2 separate regions of the Homo sapiens genome follow, and region 2 is linked to region 1. Evidence: promoter capture Hi-C in human tissues and cell types (Jung and others, 2019). All regions are on one chromosome and are shown on one strand. The core of a region is centred on a gene start or on the middle of the fragment in contact, and the rest is flanking DNA. Distances in the headings are between cores, read along the strand shown.

Region 1 (6,901 bases), core at 3,538-6,037:
AAGGATATGAGTTTTTTACTGTGGTAAATATATACATAACAAAAATTGACCATTTTAGCCATTTTTAAGCACACAATTCATTTCAGCTCACGAGTTCAAGACCAGCCTGGGCAAACATGGCGAAAACCTGTCTATACAAAAAATCCAAAAATTAGCCGGGAGTGGTGGCGCGTGCCTGTGGTCCCAGCTATTTGAGAGGCTGAGGCTAGAGAATCACTCGAACCCAGGAGGTGGAGGTTGCAGTGAGCCGAGATCACGACACTGTACTCCAGGCTAGGCAACAAAGTAAGACCCTATCCCCCACCAAAAAAAAAGGAAATAGAAAGACAGGGTTGGGCATGGTGGCTCACACCTGTAATTCTAGCACTTTGGGAGGCTGAGGCGGGTGGATCACTTGAGGTCACGAGTTTGAGACCAGCCTGGCCAACATGGTGAAACTCTGTCTCTACTAAAAATATAAAAATCAGCCACGCATGGTGGTGCACGCCTGTAATTCCAGATACTCGGGAGGCTGAGGCATGAGAATTGCTTGAACCTGGGAGACAGAGGTCGTGCCATTGCACTCCAACCTGGGTGACAGAGTGAGACTCTGTCTCAAAAAAGAAAAAAGAAAGATGGCATATATGGATGGTTTTCTGTCCGTACATACAGATGCTGATAAGATGGGCTGAATTGTGTCCTCCCAAAATTCATCGTTAAAGTCCCAACTAGTACTTCAGAATTTGACTGTATTTGGAGATATGGTTTTTTAAAAAGTTATTAAGGTAAAAATGAAGTCACATGAGGGGGCCCTAACCCAGTAAGACTGGTGTCCTTGTAAGAAGAAATTAAGACACAGACGCACAGAGGGAAGACCATGTTAACACATAGGGAGAGGGGCTCAGTATGGTGTCTCATGCCTGTAATCCCAACAATTTGGGAGGCCAAGGCAGGAGGATCACTTGAGGCCAGGAGTTCAAGACCGGCCCAGGCAACAAAGCAAGACCTCGTCTCTAATAAAAGTAAAAAAAAAAAAAAAAATTAACCAGGCGTGGTGGTGCACACTTGTAGTCCTAGCTACTTGGGAGGCTGAGGTGGGAGGATCGCTTGAGCCCAGAAAGTTGAGGCTGCAGTGAGCTATGATCGCACCATTGCACTCTAGTCCAGCCTGGGTGACAGGGTGAGACCCTGTCTCAAAAAAAATAAATAAAAAGGACACAGGGTATAAAAAATTACCATCTACAAACCAAGAGTGGTCTCAAAAGCAAACAGTCTTGGCAACACCTTGATATTGGACTTCTAGCCTCAAGAATTACAAGAAAATAAATTTTGTTGTTTAAGGCACCCAGTCTATGGTATTTTGTTATAACAGCCCTACCGAACCAATATACCTCCCAAATTAACCAATTCCTAGGGCACAAGCAGGAAGGGTTTCTTTCTGTTTCCCACTGCCTATTCACCACTTCTTTAACCCAATTGGTATTTTCTTTTTAATCTAGCTTTCTCAAAGTATACTAATGGATAAGGAAAATCATAATCCAGAATTTTGAGACAATAGGCTGTAAAGGAAGATTCCATGATAATTTACCTGCCATGAAATTTGGAGTAAAACTTTGAACTCTGAGACAATAAAGAATGGGCCTTAGTAAAGGTACATTCTGGTAAATGATGAGCTGCAAAGCCGGAATCTAAGATGTCTACCACGGTGAGCACTGGGAGTTTATCTAAGAAGGCAGACCAGAAGAAAACATGTTAACCTGCTGCCTGGAGAAAGGGAGCCACATACATAAATACGTTAAGGACCTCGTGAGGGAGAGGACAGAAGCTGGCTAATTCACCTTCAGCATCCAGGGGAGTTTTGCAGGATGAGCCGAGGATTCGAGGATGGCCCCTCTCAATGCGGCGGATAGTTGCCCAGCATTGTGGGTGCTGACAAACAGCCAAGCCACAGGTGGTTTCGTCCCACTGGCTCTCATCTGGCAAGTCCATAGCTAGAAATGGTTTAGGCCAAAGGCCAACCCTGCAGCATTCTAGTGCTCTGGAAAATCAACAGCTACATAATTAGGGAGTATTATACATTAGCCATACAGTCCAGATGTTAATTTGAACTCACAGTATAAAATATTTCTATTGAACCTATATAGGTAAATGATGGCCACAAAATAATTAAAGATTGGATAACAAGCAAGTATGAAAATAGCTCAGCATAAAGTAGAATGGCAAGAGTTTGAGAGCAGGACTTCAGGTCTCCTAATTGGCTATTTAATAGCTGAGTGACCTGGGACTTAACCAGTCTGAGCCTGTTGCCTCCACTGTAAAATGAGGATAAGCTTATTTCACAGGGTCATTATAAAAATTAGTTAATGGATATTAAAAGCCTGGCATATTGTTCCAAATAAATATTTGCATCCTTTCCTTTTCCCCTTCGTTAGTCATCAGGGAGAAGATGCCACCATCTCCAAAAAGCATTATCAAATTATGACCAAAGTAGTCACAGAAGTGTCTTAGAAGGCCCAAACTTCTGGAAGACATGTTTCATTTTTCAATGTGCTTCAGTTCCCATGCAGGCAGATAAAATACCCACCAGCAATGAATGTGTTTGCTCAAATAGCAAATCACTAGACACTGCTAGTTGCATCAGAGGCCATTAGCTTTTCATTCATTGGCCATATGGCCTTTGACAAGGGTCTTCACACCTCTCTCTCAAGTAGGGGGAGGGGTCCTGACTTGGTGTCTCAGGTCTGTAACCACAGCACTTTGGTAGGCCAAGATGAGTTACCCCCTCTCCACAAAAAATAATAAATAACATAAGCAGAAGGCAGGGAATCCCTAAGTAGGACTGCAGAAGCATTAAATGAGATAATGTACTTTTATTCATGGGAGGTGTTCAATAAATATTATCATCTTTTCCTTTCTAGAGGTGTTTTAGGCAATCACTAACTACCACCTTATTCCTAAGAACTTTTTAAGGACAGTGTCCATTTCTTTCTTTTATTCAACACATTTATTGATTACTAAATATGTGAGGGGACCTGCTTTGGACATGAACAGTAATAAACAAACTCCCTGTTCTAAACAGTTTCATAATTTAGATCAAAGATAAACTATCAGCCTGGGATTGCACCTGGCCTATTACTTGTTTTGTTTGGCTAGCACTTTGAATCAATTTTAAATTTGAATCAATTTTAAAATTGAAATAGCCCACAATGTCCTTTTAGGGACCAAAATACTTGACAACACTGAGCCCAATTCCAGTTGAAGAGCAACTGACTAGCGCTGAGCAGCCCTGATGGTTTCAGCCAGGTCTGTTCTATCCAAGCGGAGTTCCCCCACCAGACCTTATGGTCTCTAATTGAAACACTTTCAGTTGCCATTTATCATAGCATTTGCTCTTTTGTTTTAAAATATTTCTCTATAATCAGGCTTCTATCGAAAGCAGGAAAACTACAGGGCGACTTGGGACTGCATGCTTGACGGGAAAAAAAAGCAGCATTAATTCTCAGTGGGAGGCTGGGCGCCGTGGCTCATGCCTGTAATCTCAGCACTTTGCAAGGCCGAGGGAGAATCACTTGAGCCCTGGAGTTCGAGACCAGCCTGGGCAACATGGTGAAACCCTGTCTCTACGAAAAATACAAAAAATTAGCTGGGTGTGATGGAACGCACCTGTAGCCCCAGCTATTTGGGGCTGAGGTGGGAGGACCACCTGAGCCAGGGAGGTCGAGGCTACAGTGAGCCGAGACCGTGCCGCTGCACTCCAGCCTGGGGGACGGAGTGAGACCCTGTCAAGAAATTTTAAAAATTAAAAAATAAATAAAATCAGTGGGAGTGAGAATTTCTACGAACTTAATATAAAAATAACTTAAAAACAACTTAAAACACCATTGCGCCGGGCGCGGTGACTGGCGCCTGTAATCCCTGCACTTTGGGAGACCGAGGCGGGCGGATCACGAGGTCAGGAGATCGAGACCATCTTGGCTAACACGGTGAAACCCTGTCTCTACTAAAAATACAAAAAAATTAGCCGGGCGTGGTGGCGGGCGTCTGTAGTCCCAGCTACTAAGGAGGCTGAGGTAGGAGAATGGCGTGAACCCGGGAGGCGGAGCTTGCAGTGAGCCGAAATCGGCGCCACTGCACTCCAACCTGGGCGACAGAGTGAGACTGTCTCAAAAAAAAAAAAAAAGAAACGCCATTGCAAAACCTTGAGAATGGTTTTAACTGGAAAAAATGTATGATGAACAATTTAACTGAAAAATAAATACAATTTTAACACGGTTTGTTTTTGAAAGCGAATGTGACGTTGCATTCTTCATACAGTGAAAAGGCTGCTTCTCGCCCTTTCGTTACCTGCCCAGTCCGAATTGACTCCTGAGACCTAATCAGGCGCATCTCTATATGGCCAGCATTATCCCTGGGCTGCCTAAATAGTTCGCGTTAAACACAAACAACAACAATAAAATCTAAATAACACTCAGTCTTAGTACCATTATTACAAAAGCGTGAGGGGCGAAAAGATTAAAAATGAACATCAACTTCGGTAGAGATGGAAAAAGACTGCCCACTCCATTCCAGGAAAGAAAAAAGAAAGTGGGAGAATCTGATCACGACGGGCTGAGGTCCTGTGAGAGCAAAGCAGATTCCAAACCGCTTAGGGTTGCTAAATCAAGTGGTAAAACGTGGCCCCTTGCGGCGCGGTGAGATTAACGGACCCGGCGGGCCCAGAGCCTGCCTCGGGTCCTAAAGGGATCCGCCCCGCCGAGTCAGCCACGCCTTCGTCTCCCACGCGCTGCGCCCGGCCGCGCCGTCACCCAGCAGCGGCGCAGGGCACCATGGGAAACGGACGGAAGCTCCATTGAGCCAAATAAGTTGGTGAGAAGGTTCCCGACGCGGCGATGGCGAGAAGCAGAGAAATGGACCTGGGGAGGGGCGTGCGGGGTGCGGTAGGGTTGGATGGAAGCCTTGGCGGGCCAAAACCACTGCGGCTTCAAAATCCGGATGCGCCGGTATTTGAGGCGGAGGCGGGGCTGTGGGGGGAGGAGGGAGGCTATGGCGCTCAGAGCACTGTGGGACACTGTAGGCCACGTGGGGCGGAACGGAAACCTCGCAGGGTCAGACCGTAGCGACGCGGGAAGTCCGGACGCAGTAGCTCCCTGAAGCGGAGGCGAAGGGGAGTTTAAGCCCCAGCGGCGGCAATGGCGGAGAGGCCCGAGGACCTAAACCTGCCCAATGCCGTGATCACCAGGATCATCAAGGAGGCGGTGAGCAGCTCGGGGGGGGCGGACGAACGGGCAGGAGGGAAGCAGGTGCTGGAACGGCAGCTTTGCTCACCCCCGGTCTCCTCGCAGCTCCCGGACGGTGTCAACATCTCCAAGGAGGCCCGGAGCGCCATCTCCCGCGCCGCCAGCGTCTTCGTGCTGTACGCCACATCCTGGTGAGCGGGACAGAGGCATAAGGGAGGCGCGGGGATACCTGGCTGGGAGTTGCTGGCTGGGAGCCTACAAACCCCAACGATTGTGTTCTCCCTCGGTGGGGACATGTTCACAGTCCTCTGCCAGTTTTTACAAGTTCTGAAGCAAAATAACACAACAAAATCACTTTGCTTTAGCTTTTTTGTGCAGAGAAGGGAAGGACTTATCCCTGTCACACCAAAATCCATACATGTAAGAGGCAGGCTTTCCCGTTCCACCTCTGGGTGCTCCTTTTCCCACTCACGCCTTACAAACAAGAGGGAGTCTGACAGCCTTTCTCTTCTCTCAGTGCTAACAACTTTGCAATGAAAGGAAAGCGGAAGACGCTGAATGCCAGTGATGTGCTCTCAGCCATGGAAGAGATGGAGTTCCAGCGGTTCGTTACCCCATTGAAAGAAGCTCTGGAAGGTAACGAGCCTCTTGTCTTCTAAACCACATAGAAGATGGTCATCCTGTGTGACCTGTTCACCAGGCCCTGAGCCTTCTCAGCGCGGGTCCCTTTAAGTCCAGTAAGCCAGCACTTGATGTGACTCGACCCAGTTCGGTGGGCACCACCTCAGATCTGTTTTGTAATGCTGAGCAAGTTATTTTTCCTTCTCTGCCTCCGTTTTTGTTTTTGTCTTGCTTTTCTTGTTTTTGTTTTTTTTTTTTTTTTTTTGAGACGGAGTCTTGCTCTGTCACCCAAGCTGGAGTGCAGTGATGGGATCTCAGCTCACCGCAGTCTCCTCCTCCTGGGTTCAAGCAATTCTCCTGCCTCAGCCTCCCGAGTAGCTGGGACTACAGGCGCACGCCACCACGTGCGGCTCATTTTTTATTTTTGTAGAGACGGGGTTTCACCATATTGGCCAGGCTGGTCTTGAACTCCTGACCTCAGGTGATCCGCCCGTCTCAGCCTCCCAAAGTGCTGGGATTACAGGCGTGAGCCACCGCGCCCATCTGCCTCCGTTTTTCCAATTGTACAATGTAATTAGCTCCTGCAGTCCGTCTGGCTCACTTTCAGCTCTGTCTCCTAACCCCTTGTTCCGTCCTTACAGCATATAGGCGGGAGCAGAAAGGCAAGAAGGAGGCCTCAGAGCAAAAGAAGAAGGACAAAGACAAAAAAACAGACTCGGAAGAGCAAGACAAGAGCAGGGATGAGGACAATGATGAAGACGAAGAAAGGCTGGAAGAAGAAGAACAGAATGAAGAGGAAGAAGTAGACAACTGAAAAGGGCGGGAGACTGTGGCACCTTGGAAGGTACCACTTGAAATGAGACGTGCTACGTGTTTCTGTGAAGCTTTTCCATGCTGGGCAGAGTAGTCTCAGGCAAAAGTGCCTGAAAAGATCAGAATAAAAACTGACTAGAAATACCGTCAAAACCAGCACTTACCAAACTCAGAGCATCTGAGTAGCAGAATCCTGTTTTGCTTCATCAATCTGAAGGTTATGGCCTTTTGACAAGAGGGATTCTGAACGA
Region 2 (6,901 bases), core at 1,541-4,040, 74 kb before region 1:
GTCAGCAATTGCTATTGTTATTAACATGACGTCCCCCTCCTCACTCTCAGCTCCAAGTCTCTATCGGTGATCCGATAGGAAAGTCTTTGACCCTATGCATGCATCCCCAGCATGTTGTTGCCACAGTGATACCCAGGAAATGGCAGCTGGATGAATGAATGAATGAGGTTTATTGTACTATACTACCCTAGGATGAAAAGTGGATACTTTATTAAAAGAGAAATCCTTCGTTTTGTATGTTAAATACACCCCGATTTTAAAAAACATATTAGCTAATAACATTTAGAGTACTAAAGAGCATTGAACCCAAAAATGTTTTCCAGGTCTCAGCTGGTGACTTGAGCTGATTTTCATTCACGGAAGCCCCTTTTCAGTCACCATTCAGTGATGTGATTGCTCCGCAAATGATACTGACCATGGGGTATCCCAGATTCCTTAGGCTGCACCAGCCAAATGAGCCACTGCCGCTAACAGTGGGCCATGGCAGTGCATTGCTGTCACTCAACAGCCAATTCTCATGCTCACCTGCCCGGCACTCCTCCCCTGCTCCGCTCTAACTGCCGTCACTAATGGCCACTTCAGCCCTCCTGTGTCCTGCACTGCCTGCAAGATCAGCCTGTTTGGATTCTCCTACACAAAACTTCTATACTCCCTTACCTGGCCTCATCATGGCAGCCTTAGCTTACAGTGAGTATTTCTGCCTCCTTGCCTTTGCTCATGCTTTGCCCTGCCTGGAATGCCATTTCCAACCTTCTTCTTTAGTTGTCTTATTCTTCATCTGTGCCCAAGTTCAAAATTCCACTTTTTCCATGAAGCCTTCCTTGATCATCTCAGACCACAGTGAACTCTCCCTCTTCCCATACTGATGGCCTTTATTACTCATGTCATTCTTTTCTTCATGCAGCCAATATCTAATAAACATCTATATGCCAGGCACTAGGTACTGTGATGACTAAAAAAGAAATAGTCCTGTTTTTCAAGGTGCTTAGAGTCCTGTAGAACTGAGCACGTACATGTTGTTATTGTAATTTCTCTCCATGCAGTGCCTGGTGTCCCCACGTGAACAGTGGACACCTTGAGAATAAATTTCCATGTGTAGGCTGGTCGGCTTCCCCAGTGACCAGCACAGTGCCTTGTTTGATACCGAGTGCTCAGCAAATGCTCATTGATAACACAGTCCTTGGTAACACCTGGAATGATGGAGACTCAAGGAGGGGCAGCCTCTGCAATTTAGTATTGCCACTATCACTCATTTATCCAGAAAGCACTAATCGAACCCCTGGTGTATGCTGGCCACCTGGCTGTCACCCACTAGCCCAGAGCAGAGTCCCCCTCCAGCTCAGCAGCTCTCCTCACCTGGACTGGCTGGCCCTGTTCCACACAGTAACCAAGAGACGCTTCTGATCATCCTCCTCTTGGACAGGACTGCGAAATCAATCAGACCATCGGAGTGTTAGTAAGGGCTGAGCTCCAGGCCATAGCTGACTCATAGAGTCAGTCATAATTCCAAAAATGTGGAAGTAACGTCAACAGCTGGTTAAATAAACTATATTACAAATAAAGTAAGAGATGACTACCTCCATGCATAAAACAGTTTATATTATGTTGTTAAGGACAAAAAGGAGGTTACAACATGCTATTATAAAATAATTCCATTTTCGGGCCGGGCACAGTGGCTCATGCCTGTAATCCCAGCACTTTGGGAGACAGAGGTGGGCGGATCATGAGGTCAGGAGATCGAGACCATCCTGGCTAACACGGTGAAACCCCGTCTCTACTAAAAATACAAAAAAAATTAGCCAGGCATGGCGGCAGGCGCCTGTAGTCCCAGCTACTCCAGAGGCTGAGGCAGGAGAATGGCGTGAACCCAGGAGGCGGAGCTTACAGTGAGCCGAGATTGTGCCACTGCACTCCAGCCTGGGTGACAGAGCAAGACTCCATCTCAAAAAAAAAAATTCCATTTTTGTAAACATACACACACAGACATATACACACACACATGCAAACATACACACCCACACGCAAACATACACATTAAAAGGTCTGAAAAGGTCTGAAAAGGACCTTAAAAGGTCTGAAAAGAAATACAGTAGGGCGTATCTGTGAGTAGGAGGGCTATAGGTGTTTTCTATTTTCTTCTTTTTACTCATCTATATTTTCTATTTTCCTATCATAACCAAAACTACTTTATGTAGTAAGAGAAAAACCAAAATATTAATTTTCACTAATAGGAAAATACAAAATGTACATTACCTTCCCATTGGCCCCAGAGTTCAGAGATTGGGGAAAGAAATAATAACAATAATAGCTGGTACCCTGTGTTATGTTATACTGTCCCATTTATACCCCACAGCTCTCTGAGGTTGCTACTATTATTAGCCCCATTTTACAAATAAGGAAGCCAAGGCTCAGAGAGGTTAGAAAGTTGAAGTAAAAAGGGGGGCAGGGAGGCAAAACATCCTTCAGCTTGGAAAATTCCTTCGGCTAAAGGAGAAAGCTTGGCCCAAGGCACAGTGGGAAATTGCCTACACTTTTTATGGGCTGCCAGCCCCAGGCTGGGCATTTTAGTTATGAGAGCTAGCCAAGTGATACCTTATCACTGTGGACCTCGCTGCTGGGCCTGGTGCCAGGGATGCAAGGACACAAGTGAGTGAGAAAACAAAGACATCCTTTAGAAGGCACTGGTTTTTTTTGTTTTGGTTTTTTTTTTTTTTTTTTTTTTGCATAGATCTAGTTCTAGATTTGGCAAACAGAGCTGTTTCCAGATAAACACTCCTTCCCTCTCCTTTCTAGGGCCCAGCTGCACCAGACTCTTACAAGAAGAAGTGCTCGTGGAAAGCCGGGTCTCTGCAGTCTGGAACGGTCTGCGTCTTCTGGTGGCGTAGTCTACTATCTTCAGGGATCAAAGAAATCTTGAATTGGAAAAAAGGAAGCATGATTAGCGGATCTCATGGCCCACCTAAGCCCAGCAGCTGACTCTGCACATCTCCAAGTTAAAGGCTTCCCAGGGTCCTTCAAGTCAGCCTCTGCAGAGGACAGAATAGAGTCCCCTGTCAGATGCTGCAAGGGAACAAGGAGCCCAGGGCAAGAGACATTGGAGGCAGATGCCAGGACAGGGCCTCATGGTGGGTGGTACCAAAAAGGCAGCCACGGCCCAGCCAGAGCTGGGGTACAACTTTATCATCTCTGCTCTTCCCCCAAGCAGAGTGGTTTCCCCAGAAGCGAAAGGACTCCTCTCTTCTAAGGTCCCAGCAGCTGCTGAGTGCTCCCTTCACGAAGGCTCCAGGTCAGCCTCTGCCAAGGCCCCAAATCCATGTTCTCAACCCAGGGCTGTTCTAGCCCTGCTCCTGATAAATTCCTTGCCAGCAGGGGCTTCTGATCAGCCTGAAGGCTTCAGGAAGAATGCTGAGGGCCAGCACCTGGAACCCCAGCTGCCACACTTTAGGAAGCTCCTGGCCTTTGGCTCTCACTGAAAGTAGAGCCCCACCCCTATAAGGACCCTGTCTTTACAGCAAAAGCCCAACCCAGAAGGATCTTCCAGCCCTCAGAGACACTCCCTCCACTCTACTGCCCAAATCTGGCCATCCTGCCCCTAGTTTGGGGGGAAAGTGGGTGAAAACGGTGCTTTTCACAAGAGGTCTTGGGATTACCTGTGGATTTCAGCCATCCACATACTCACTGCCCACCTATATAGATGACCAAGATCGCCCTTAAGATTTTGGCTGTTGCAGGAAGCCCCAGGGACCCAGCCGAGCTAAGGGAATGGGTTTGTCCCAGCACTGGGCCCAATAAATGCCTATTGAGAAGATGAGTGAGATGGCAACTGCCTCCTCAAAGGTCACCAGCCCCACAGGTGTGCTGGGACCTTGGGACTGAGCCCAGTAACATGGCCCCTCAATATCCCACTCTCCATCTCCGGCCCCACCACATACCTTCACATACGGATCACAGGTGCCAGGCTGTTTGCTGATCAGGCCTTTACCTTCTATAACTAAAAGAGAATTCAGACATTGGGGTGGATGAATGGAAACATACACACACACACAGCGAGAAAGAGAGACACACATAGACATATCCATCCACACGAATAAAGAGACCTGAAAAGAAAAGCGTATCTGTGAGTAGCAGGGCTATGGCCCCTGCTACTAGGCCCTTAATCTGCATAACCACCATTGGCTATGAACCTGCTCTGGTCTAGGCCATTCCCACCATCTTCCACTCTCTGGCAGCACCCTCACCAATGCATTACGAGGTACATTCAATTCCCTGAATCTTACAGCTGGAAGAGAACTACAGTTTATAGAATCTAACCCTTCATGTAATGGGGAAAATGAGGCTTCGAGGGGAACCCAAGATAGTAAGAAACTTGCCCACAATCACAGAACAATGGGAATGACCGCTGGATTTGGAACCCATGTCTCTTGACTCCCGGCTCAGTGCTCTACCACACAAGACTGCCTTCTAGGAATGAAGGGGCCACTCACCATGTGCCATGAGCCATGCCGTGGCACTCACGGTGTGCCGTGAGCCGTGCTGTGGCTGGCGGACAGCACAGCACAGGAGTCACAAGCTGGGGCCTCAGGGGTGGACGGACCCAGGCATGAATCCCAGCTGCACCGCTTACTCACCATATAAGCTAGAGTGAGTTGCTTTGCATGGGACAGAATTTGCCATTTTTAATGGTTTAGTGATAATAACATGCACTTCACATGGTAGTTGTTCCAATTAAATGAGGTAATGTGCCTGAAGTGCTCAGAGGAGTGCCTGGCAAATAAGTAATTGCTCAAAAAATGTTTGCTAAAGAAAAATAATAATAAATAAAGGCAAGGGGAGAGGTGTGGGGTGGGTGCAGGTGTGGTCACAAGAGTAGGCAGCACCATTTGCCTGAGGTCTATAGAAAGAAGACAATAGACCTGATAGAACCTGAGCCTCAGTTCTATTTTCTTTTACGTCTGGATTTTTTTGTTTGTTTGTTTCTTGTTTTTTTTGTTTTTTTTTTTTTTGAGATGGAGTTTCGCACTTGTTGCCTAGGCTGGAGTGCAATGGCACGATCTCGGCTCACTGCAACCTCCACCTCCCGGGTTCAAGTGATTCTCCTGCCTCAGCCTGCCAAGTAGCGGGGATTACAGGCTTGTGCCACCACACCCGGCTAATTTTGTATTTTTCGTGGAGAGAAGGTTTCTCCATGTTAGTCAGGCTGGTCTCGAACTCCCGACCTCAGGTGATTGGCCCGCCTCAGCCTCCCAAAGTGCTGGGATTACAGGCGTGAGCCAATGCACCCAGCCTTACGTCTGGTTTTCATTGAGCCCTAGGGTTTGGCTCAGACAGTGCTCCCAGTAGTCTGAGGTGCAAGGCCTGGGAAACCAATGGAAGGAGTGGGGACCGGTGGGAAGGGATGAAGGGCCTGAGACTGGGGTGAAGCCAAAGCAAACTGTGCAGGACAAATGGAGTGGTGGAGGCCAAGATGCATTTTGCAAAAACTGTTTGCACAGCTGGAGTCAGGCCCTGGCAGGCAGAGAACACCCCTCTGCTGCTCCTTGGGAACTTCACGTTGGGCCCCCCATGGCCATGACCAGAGGACCCAGGCGCCTACTAGTCTACTCTGCCCAGTATCCTGGTTACTGTTCCTGTGTGCATCATTTCCCTCGAGGGCGTGGTTCTTGAGGGCAGGACCCAGGTCTGGTGACCTCCTGGGTCTCTCTGGCCAGCAGTGACAATGAACCACACCCAGTCCCTGTCCTCATTGCATTCTCAGTCTGGCAGAGAGGCCAGACACAGGTGGCACAGTATAGTCAGGGCTGTGACAAAGACACAAAGGAGAAAGCAATAAACCCAGCCCAGACAGGTGGGTCAGGGGGATGATTCCTGGAGGGGGAAATAATAAGGCAAAATGACCCTTCCTTCCTGAGTCTTAATGATGATGAAGGCAGGCATATTTCTTGCAAAATCAGAGCAGGTGGAGAGTTATTTTTCAAAAGGGGTTCAAAACAAAAGAAAGGTTATTCCAGGCACAGTGAACAGCAGGTGCAAAGGCACAGAGGCAGGAGCAAGCAAGATGTATTCAAGGGAGTGCATGTAACTGGATAGAGCTGGAGGTGGAGGGTACCGTCAGCGGCAAGAGCCAGGGAGGCTGGAGAGATAGACAGGGCCTTCTGGGCTAAACAGAAGAGTCCTGGCAGTGGGGGCCATGACAGCAACTCATGTAACTATTCATGTGCCGGATGGAAGGATGGACACATGGACAGACAAACAGGTGGAGTATGAACTCTTCCTGTGCTGTGCTCCAGCCATGCTAGACAGCTCTTCAAATGCATCCTGCTCTCTCTGACCCCCAGGCCTTTGCACTTGCTAGCCCTGTGCATGAAGTGCTAGCCACACCCTCCCTGCTCCTCTTTGCCTGGCTCAGGCCCATTCCTCCTTCAGGATACCGTGTGGGCATCACCCCCTCCGCCAAGTCTTCCCTGGCATCCCATCAACACCATCTAGACAGGGGTGGGTGCTTCTCCTTGGTGTTCCCAGCCCCTAGCACAGAGCTAATGCTCAATCGCTATTTTTGGAATGTATGGTTTTCTTTTTTTTTTTTTTTTTTTTGAGACGGAGTCTCGTACTGTCGCCTGGGCTGGAGTGCAATGGCATGATCTTGGCTCACTGCAACCTCCACCTCCTGGGTTCTAGCAATTCTCCTACCCCAGCCTCCCAAGTAGCTGGGATTATAGGCATCTGCCACCACACCCGGCTAATTTTTTTGTATTTTTGGTAGAGACGGGGTTTCAGTATGTTGGCCAGGCCGGTCTTGAACTCCTGACCGCGTGATCTGCCCGCCTCGGCCTCCCAAAGTGCTGGGTTTACAGGCATGAGTCACCGTGCCCAGCCAGTTTTCTATTTTATCTAACAAAAACTT

The links. Contacts are between HindIII fragments. The study calls those that stand out against the background at their distance.
Region 2: a fragment that was not itself captured here is called in contact with the fragment with the promoter of POLE3 in region 1 in 2 of the 25 tissues and cell types used here (aorta and pancreas).

What each region holds. Positions count from the first base shown.
Region 1 is chr9:113,408,561-113,415,461 of GRCh38, reverse strand. POLE3 (DNA polymerase epsilon 3, accessory subunit) reads left to right here and starts at 4,787. Exons shown (of 5, transcript NM_017443.5): 1 at 4,787-4,845; 2 at 5,054-5,234; 3 at 5,322-5,407; 4 at 5,734-5,852; 5 at 6,479-6,901. The coding sequence starts at 5,169. The coding sequence ends at 6,651. C9orf43 (chromosome 9 open reading frame 43) reads right to left here and starts at 4,715. Exons shown (of 14, transcript NM_001278629.2): 1 at 4,461-4,715; 2 at 1,818-2,017; 3 at 1,568-1,703. The coding sequence starts at 1,968. RefSeq lists enhancers at 3,188-4,087, 4,706-4,895, 5,136-5,415, 4,988-5,887, 4,790-5,989. The HindIII fragment of the contact is 6,520 bases long and covers 412-6,901 here.
Region 2 is chr9:113,480,149-113,487,049 of GRCh38, reverse strand. It overlaps RGS3 (regulator of G protein signaling 3), which reads right to left. Exons shown (of 23, transcript NM_001394167.1): 3 at 3,933-3,991; 4 at 2,818-2,912; 5 at 1,357-1,425. Among named protein-coding and RNA genes, the nearest start is that of RGS3, 20 kb to the right of the region's middle. The HindIII fragment of the contact is 6,557 bases long and covers 1-6,068 here.